Regions from separate parts of the Homo sapiens genome. Here all the other regions are linked to region 2. Evidence: promoter capture Hi-C in human tissues and cell types (Jung and others, 2019). All regions are on one chromosome and are shown on one strand. Each heading gives the region's core, a stretch centred on a gene start or on the middle of the fragment in contact. The rest is flanking DNA. Distances are from core to core; before and after follow the strand shown.

What was found. The method cuts DNA at HindIII sites, captures the fragments that hold promoters and counts their contacts. A contact is called where the count stands out against the background at its distance.
Region 1: a contact is called between a fragment that was not itself captured here and the fragment with the promoter of ENAH in region 2, in 1 of the 25 tissues and cell types used here (hippocampus).
Region 3: a fragment that was not itself captured here is called in contact with the fragment with the promoter of ENAH in region 2 in 1 of the 25 tissues and cell types used here (dorsolateral prefrontal cortex).

The regions. Positions count from the first base shown.
Region 1 is chr1:226,070,145-226,072,901 of GRCh38, reverse strand. H3-3A (H3.3 histone A) reads right to left here. Exons shown (of 4, transcript NM_002107.7): 4 at 883-1,551. The coding sequence ends at 1,423. Among named protein-coding and RNA genes, the nearest start is that of H3-3A, 8.8 kb to the right of the region's middle. The HindIII fragment of the contact is 4,533 bases long and covers 1-2,757 here.
Region 2 is chr1:225,651,715-225,654,414 of GRCh38, reverse strand. It overlaps ENAH (ENAH actin regulator), which reads left to right and starts at 1,292. Exons shown (of 14, transcript NM_018212.6): 1 at 1,292-1,729. The coding sequence starts at 1,725. RefSeq lists a silencer at 1,313-1,442. The HindIII fragment of the contact is 16,817 bases long and covers 1-2,700 here.
Region 3 is chr1:225,988,746-225,991,445 of GRCh38, reverse strand. SDE2 (spliceosome associated SDE2) reads left to right here. Exons shown (of 7, transcript NM_152608.4): 5 at 83-203. Among named protein-coding and RNA genes, the nearest start is that of SDE2, 9.2 kb to the left of the region's middle. The HindIII fragment of the contact is 3,352 bases long and covers 1-2,700 here.

The sequences.
Region 1 (2,757 bases), core at 113-2,612, 420 kb before region 2:
CACCTTTTTCTTCTGAAGTGTTTCATGAAAAGGCCATTTGGTCTTTTGCACTGAAAAACTGGATTGAACAGAGAACATTCAACTACAATTGGCTTTTAGTAACTTATATTGAGAAAGTTCCAAGTGTTACCCGTACTTCCCTGTAGAAGTACATGCAAAAGATCATACTGAAAACTAGGATGCATGCTAACAAAATCAGCCTCTTAAAGTAATTAATTCTCCCATTAAAGAATTTTATAGTCACCTATAGTCAAAAGATTAAGTTATGGCTAAATGTTTAAGAGCAGTAAGAATGCAAGCCCAGTGTCGTATCTTACTGACATGCGTCTATTCTTGGCATAGTTATTAACATTTCGTATCACTTCTAGGGCAGTTTCAAACACTCAAACGTTACAACTAATGGGATGTGTTAAAAGTCTTAGAAGGTTTAATTATCCTCATTTCACATTAATTGTACCAACACTAAATAAAACAGGGCTAAGAATTAACTATTAGTGCTTGAATAAATTCAGGGTTAACTAATAGAGCATCTTAAAATAGCCAGATCTTGAATGCATTAATTTTTGAGCTAAAGACTGTTACACACTCTCATTTGTTATTAAACATTCATGAAAGTTCAATCTACTTACAGATTCCACTATTTCCAGGTGATCCTGTTGATTAGCTTTTCGAATTATTGGTTCAGAAGACAACACATCCAAAGAGTTAAGACCACTGGGTAGTGGCAAGCTTCTAAAAATTAGAAATAAAGCCAAGTTCCTTTTGCCACCAAGTCTATACTTTCCTTCTCTCTCAATAAGTCTCACGTCTCAGATATAAAGTGACTATTAAAGGACTTAATACTGAAATTATTTGGAATATAATTGTAGGGCAAGGCTATAATAAAGACCAAAAGCAGGTATAGTTTAATGTATTTTAATAGCAAACTTACAGGAACAGCACAGAAGACAGACAACATTAAAAACATGTACTTGCATGTAGGACAACTCAGTTAGAAAAGTATAGTGAATGGATGGAATCTACTGTATGATAAAAATGCTACAAACACCATTTAGTTGCCATCAATAAGAAATTTACTTGTTTTAAAAAAATCCAAATGCTGGCATTGTCCAGAAAAATTTAACAGGTTTATTTATAATTATTATAAAGTTGAACCGCTGAAACTTGTTCACTGAAACATTTTAACTTGCATTAATGCTTTACGTCTCCGCATTTATATTAAAAATTCACACACAAATGAAAATGGAAAAACTGCCAATACCTGATTTCTGTCCCCTATTTTTCCACTCGCAATCATATACTTAGGTACCTTTTGACCCCATGGAAAAAAAATATCTAACGTTCAGAACTACCAATAACAGGAAGAAGAGAAATTTTTTTTTTTTTTTTTGAGAATGAAATGTTTCCCATCATAGTGGATTCTTAAGCACGTTCTCCACGTATGCGGCGTGCTAGCTGGATGTCTTTTGGCATAATTGTTACACGTTTGGCATGGATAGCACACAGGTTGGTGTCTTCAAAAAGGCCAACCAGATAGGCCTCACTTGCCTCCTGCAAAAGGAATGAAGAAAAAATTACTGATGATGTTATTTCCAATAGTTAAGACCCAACTATACGAATTAAAACAAAAAGGTTTTTGAACCCTTTAAAAAAATGACTGGGCAAGATGCTGACAATTTTACCAAATGCTTACATTTTACAACCTGTGGGACAAAGCTCAAAAGCAGCTTATGAAAAAAAACAAAAGCTTAAGTCAGTAAATCTTTTATCAAGTTACACAAATCAAATTACTTTGTTACTAGGAAACTTCAATTTTTCTAATGGTAACATGATTTCTAATAAACTGAAATGTCACAAATAAAGCAAGAAATCCAATTTAACACTCTCATTCTTATAAACGCAATCATGTCCAATCCAAATACCCCATCCCAGCCTAGTCTCCTCCTCACTCTGAATCCCATTCACACAGTATGTGAACCTCTGCCTTGTCCAGTAGTATAACATGGTGAACAAGTGGTTTTTATCACATGCTTCTCATCTATGTTCCCTTTCATACCTGTTTTATCATAAGAGTACTTTTGATTCCAGAACATATCACAAGTTAGTTCCGTATTTCTTTCTTTCTTTCTGAGATGGAGTCTTACTCTGTCGCCCAGGCTGGAGTGCAGTAGCGCGATCTCGGCTCACTGCAACCTCCACCTCCCGGATTCAAGCGATTCTCCTGCCTCAGCCTCCCGAGTAGCTGGGACTACAGGTATGCGCCACCATGCCTGGCTACTTTTTTGTATTTTTAGTAGAGAAGGGGTTTCACCATGTTGGTCAGGCTGGTCTCGAACTCCTGACCTCGTGATCCACCCACCTTGGCCTCCCAAAGTGCTGGGATTATAGGCGTGAGCCACCGCGCCCGGCAGTTCCTTATTTATTTATTTTGAGACGGAGTCTCTCTTTGTTGCCCAGGCTGGAGTGCAGTGGCAAGATCTCAGCTCACTGCAAGCTCCACCTCCCAGGTTCATGTCATTCTCCTGCCTCAGCCTCCCGAGTAGCTCGGGCTACAGGCGCCCACCACCACGCCTGACTAATTTTCAGTAGAGATGGGGCTTCATTGTGTTAGCTAGGATGGTCTCGATCTCCTGACCTCGTGATCCTCCTGCCTCGGCCTCCCAAAGTGCTGGGATTACAGGAGTGAGCCACCGCAACTGGCCTGGCAGTTCCTTATTTATATACTTTGATCTATGCCCCGGAAACATGCCCCTGTCC
Region 2 (2,700 bases), core at 43-2,542:
ATAGGATCCCTGTAGCAACAACCCTTTTCTATCCTCCTCACCTTTTATACAGAAAGTACATCCCTGTCTTCCGGACTAAAAGGGGGCCGTAATTCGTACAGTTAAAAATTTTATTATTGGATTTGTTTTTAGATTTAAAAAAAACCGAAAACAAAACCTTCAACAACGATCAATTCTGGCTTCCTGGATGCCCTCCTCCCCGACTTGACTTGAAATGAAATTGCCTCGCCAGTATTTTATATCTACTTTTTAAGGGAGGTGACTTCAAGACCATTGGGAATGACGAAAAATTTAAAATTATCATTAGTTCCTCTCTCTCCCCGCCCCCTGCCCGGGATTCCCTCTTTGCTAATGACGCTGGAAAGCGGCTCCACTGGCTGCGTTTCTCTTCTTCCACTCTTGCGGCAACACACTGTTCCGCGCGCGTCTCCCGGCGACTGCGTTTCCCCGAGAGTCGGCTGCGTTCGTTTGGGGATGAAGTCATCCCTATACCTAGTGTGCACATCAACTCGTTCCATCGGCGCAGCACGCTGGGATTCCTCGGGAAGAAAAGGAGCGAAGGGAACAATGATGACCATATTTTCCATTTATATGCCCCTCCTCAACTCCGCAGGAATCGCTGGGCGCAGCCGCGGCGAGGGCGGGCAGTTGGGCTGACCGGGATGCCCCCCGATTCCCTCATCCCCGTCCTGAGACCGCAACAGGGCGGGCTGAGCACTCGCCCCGCGCGAGGGCACCCGGCCGCGAGCCGACCCGGAGTCTCCTGGCCCGGCCCTGTGCCCAGTCACGCGTCCAAGCTCCCCACGCCGGTGCCTACGGGTCTGGCGCCCAGGAGGTCTCGGCGCCTCGGTCTCCGCACCGTGGCCGTGGGGGAGGCCTCGGAGCTCCCCAAGCCTCTGGGGAGCGGGAGGCGACGGGGAGGGGGCCGACGGTCAAGGACAACCACGGGCGAGGAACCCCGGCCGACAACTGGCCGGAGGTGTTGGGCGGGAGGGGGGGGTGGTGGCCCGCCCGAATCCCAGAGGGGTGCAGGGGGCGGGGTAGGGAGGCAACAAAGAGCCTCTCTCCGCCGCCGCCGCCGTCGCGCTCGCTCTCTCCCAGCCTCGCTCTCCGCAGTCCGGCGGGGGCCCGGCCGCCGGCGCGGGGGAGTGCGCCCGGCCCCCCGCCTCCCCTTTCCTCCCCTCCCCCCGCACCGCCCCCTCGCCCCCGGGGGAAGGAGGGGAGGAGGGCGGCGCCTGCGTGTTCCTCCGCCGCGCGCCCCGCCTCCTCCCGGGTTCCTCGCGGCGATCCCGACTCTCCTCCCGCGGCTGCAGCAGCTGCCGGTTGCACACGGCCTCGGCGGCGGCGCGGCGAGCGCGGGCCTGTGGAGCGGCGGCCGGGCGCGCGGCCCCGGCGGGCACCCCTCAGAGGGCGGCCGAGGAAGCTCCGGGAGGAGGAGCAGGACCACGAGGAGGTGGGAGGCGGCGGCCGCCTGGGGACCAGCTCCGCGCCTCGGCCTCTCCGCCCCCTCCCCAGCCTTTCTCTCGCCCTCTTCTCCCACACTCCCGGCCGGCGCCTCGGCTTTGTGCGAGGAGATGGTGTAGCCCCCTGGCCGCCGAAGGAGGAGCCGGACACTTGTCTCCCGTCTCCGAGCTGCTCCCCACCCCTGGAGGAGAGACCCCCCCCTCGGCTCGGCGCCTTCTGCGTCTCCCGGCTGGTGGGGAAGCCTCTGCGCCGCCGGCACCATGAGGTGAGGGGCGCGCGGGGCGGGGGCCGGGCGGGCCATTGTGCCGCGGGAGCCGCGACCCCCGTTCTCCTCGGACCCCGCCTTCCCTCTCCCGGCCCGGCGCGTCTCCCCTGGTCTCCGGTCTGTTCCTCCCCCCTCCGCCTTTTGTCCCTTCCAATTTCTCTTTCTTTCTTGGAAACCTCCCCAACCCGTGTGGTTTGGGGGTCTCGCTTCATCGTTCTCTCATTTTTCCTCAAATGCTCTTCTTTCACCCAGGATTTCCCTTCCTAAATTTAATTTGCGCCTGGCTCCCTCCCCCAAGCCTTTGCAAGCGAAACCCGGGAGATGGGGAGGGGTTCGAGAATCGAAGCGTGCGTGTTGCTGGGAAACAGGTATTTTTTCGTATATATGTAAAAATTTCATGCACTTTTGCCTCCGAACTCTCGTGTTTAATTAAAAAAGGAAGAAAAGTTTGAAAGGTCTGAAATCTCTGCGGGTAATAAAGTGCCTCTGGTAGGGGTAGGTGAAGGAGCTGTGAAAGGTGAAATTTCACGATGGTGGGGGAAGGGAAAGAATTGATTAGGTTCACGTGGTGGGGGCAGTAAAAGACTGGGATAAGTAAGTTGGTAGGGGTGTGTAAGCGGGGGCGGGGAAGGGATCTGTTTGGAAAAGCCTTTTCTCCCCTTTCTCTGTAGCAGCCTGTGTTGCATTGCAGCAGCTGCTTTTTCCCTTTGCTCTGTACTCAATAAAACAGGAGCTAAATTATTTTTGCGGCCCCGAAGAATTGAATGTACTGTCGTAAAATATTTTTTTAATTGATACGATGAAACATATGGTATGATATTTTTCTTTATTGTTTCTCAAATTGTGTAGGAGAATAAACCGTGATGTGGTGTGTCATTCATTGGAGATTTTTTTTCCAGCCTTTCCTAAACCTGTTCTGTGTCCATAACCTTCTCTTTTCGGATTGGTGCAAGACTTCGTGTGAAATGGGA
Region 3 (2,700 bases), core at 166-2,665, 340 kb before region 2:
TCTTTTTGCAATCCATGTTATTTATGATTTCTTTAAACTTAGTCCCTATAGTAGAAACTGAGTTGTTAAAATTTCTGGTTAGGTATGCAGGCTGCCTCCAGCAAGATGGTTTCAGCAGAAATCAGTGAGAATCGGAAACGGCAATGGCCTACTAAATCTCAAACAGACAGAGGAGCCAGTGCGGGAAAGAGGAGATGCTTCTGGTAAGTGTTTCACTTTCGTTCCCAATTGATCTTTGAGGACTGACTTGAGACATTTCCTCCTTGTTTATCTGGCATAAACACATTTTTGTGTAGTGTTTGGTGGGAGCTCAGAAAATTTCCAGAGTGCTTCAAGCTTTAGGTTTCAGTGATTGTCACATTGTACTGGTAATGGTTTCTGCTGTGAATGCCATTAATTGAATGTAAAGGATGAATTTTTTCCTTACACTGAAACATAAAAATAGCTTTATATTTGAATTACTTTTTTGGTGTTGAAGGGGTTTAACTTTTAGAAATTCTAGGTGGAAATCAAGCTGTACTTTCCAGGTGGTTGTCTGTGGTTTTTCACAGTCATCATTGAGGTCTTTGGTCACTTTGCCAGACTTCTCTTCACCACTTTCGCACTTGAGGGTAAAAAGCACAGCAGTACTTTTTCTTGTCCATTTTTCTGATAGTTCTCTTGTCCCTCTAGTTGGTCCTCTTGTTGCCAGTGACTTCCCTTGGGCCAAGTTCTTGAAAATAAGTTTATCCCCTTTGGGGATAAACAGATAATTATTAATCAAAGATCATATAACACTATGAGTTCAGCATACAATGTTTGTTCTTTCTGAAATGGGAATTAAGTGTTCCTGAGAGAAAGGGTGGTGACACTACCTGTGGTTTGTATTTTTTTAATGAGGTTTATTGAGGTATAATTTATATATAGCAAAATTCACCCTTTTTGGTTGATTGGTTCTACGACTTTTGAAAAATGTATATGTACTATATAGTCACGTTACCATCACCACAATCTAGATAGAGTGTATTTTAATGACCTGAAATAGTTCCCACGTGCCCTTTTGCAGTTAAGTCCCTTTTCCCCACCTCTAGACCCTGGCAACCATTGGTCACCAGTGTGATATTTGTTACTATGATTTAGTCTTTTCTAGGATGTCATATAGCCTTTAGTGTCTGGCTTCTCTCACTTAATATAAAGCTTTAGAGATTCATCCATGGTAGTGTATGTATCAGTAGTTCATTCTTTTTTATCACTCCGTATCGTTTCATGGTGTGAATGTACCACAGTTTGTTTATCCAGTCTCCATTTGGTAGACATTTGGGTAATTTCTGGGTTTGAGTAATTATTAATAAAGCATGGGTGTTTTTTTTGTGTGTGTTTTTTTTTTTTTTGAGACAGGTTCCTCACTCTGTTGCTGAGGTTGGAGTGCAGTGGCGCGATCTCGGCTCACTGAAGCCTTGACCTCCCAGGTTTAAGCTATCTTCCCATCTCAGCCTCCTGAGTAGCTGGGGCTAGGGTACATACCACCATGCCCAGCTGATTTTTTTTATTTTTTTGTGAAGACAGGGTTTTGCCATGTTGCCTAGGCTGGTCTCAAACTCCTGAGCAGGTGATCCTCGCGCCTCAGCCTCGCAAAGTGCTGGGATTATAGGCGTGAGCCACCGCGTCCAGCCCAAGCATAGGATTTATAAATGTGTGTGTGTGTGTATTAATATTTATTATTGGGAAACACCTCTGTAAAACAGAATAATTGTTCCTAGGATTTTCTTTATATATTTTTTCACCAATCAAATCAAGGGGCGGCACCGAATAATTTTCCTTCTTTTTTTTTTTTTTTTGAGACAGAATCTTGCTCTGTCGCCCAAGCTGGAGTGCAATGGCACAATCTCGGCTTACTGCAACCTCTGCCTCCCAGATTCAAGCAATTCTCCTGCCTCAGCCTCCCCAGTAGTTGGAACTACAGCCATGTGCCACCACACCCGGCTAATTTTTGTATTTTTAGTAGAGATGGTGTTTCACCATGTTGGCCAGGCTAGTCTTGAACTCCTAACCTCAAGTGATCCACCCACCTCAACCTCCCAAAGTGCTGGGATTACAGGCGTTAGCCACCATGCCCGGATGGATTTTCTTTATAACTATTTATTATTATTATTATTATTTTTTTTTTTTTTTTGAGACAGTCTTGCTCTGTCCCCCAGGCTGGAGTGCAGTGGTGCGATGATGGCTTACTGTAACCTCTGCCTCCTGGTTCAAGTGATTCTCCTGCCTCAGCCTCTCGAGTAGCAGGGACTACAGGCACCTGCCACCAGGCCTGGCTAATTTTTGTATTTTTAGTAGAGACGGGATTTCACCATATTGGCCAGGCTGATCTTGAACTCCTGACCTTGTGATCCACCCACCTCGGCCTCCCAATGTGCTGGGATTACAGGCATGAGCCACCACGCCCGGCCAACTATTTATTATTTTATCTAATTTCCAACCGTCGAAGGTAATGTAATGCGGGGGAAGAAAGCTTTAAGCAAAATCAATTTTGCTTTTAGAGATTCAGGACTTTAGAAAGGAGATCCTCTTGGATCTTTGGGACAGTTGGTCCCAGTCTCATTGAAATGTTTTTTCCTTCTGTTTATAAGCTCTAGAATATCTTTTTCCGAAATTTGCCTGTTCTCCATCTCAAGCTAGCAGAAACAGATTCTGTTTCCTGAACAAACTATAACTCTTTGC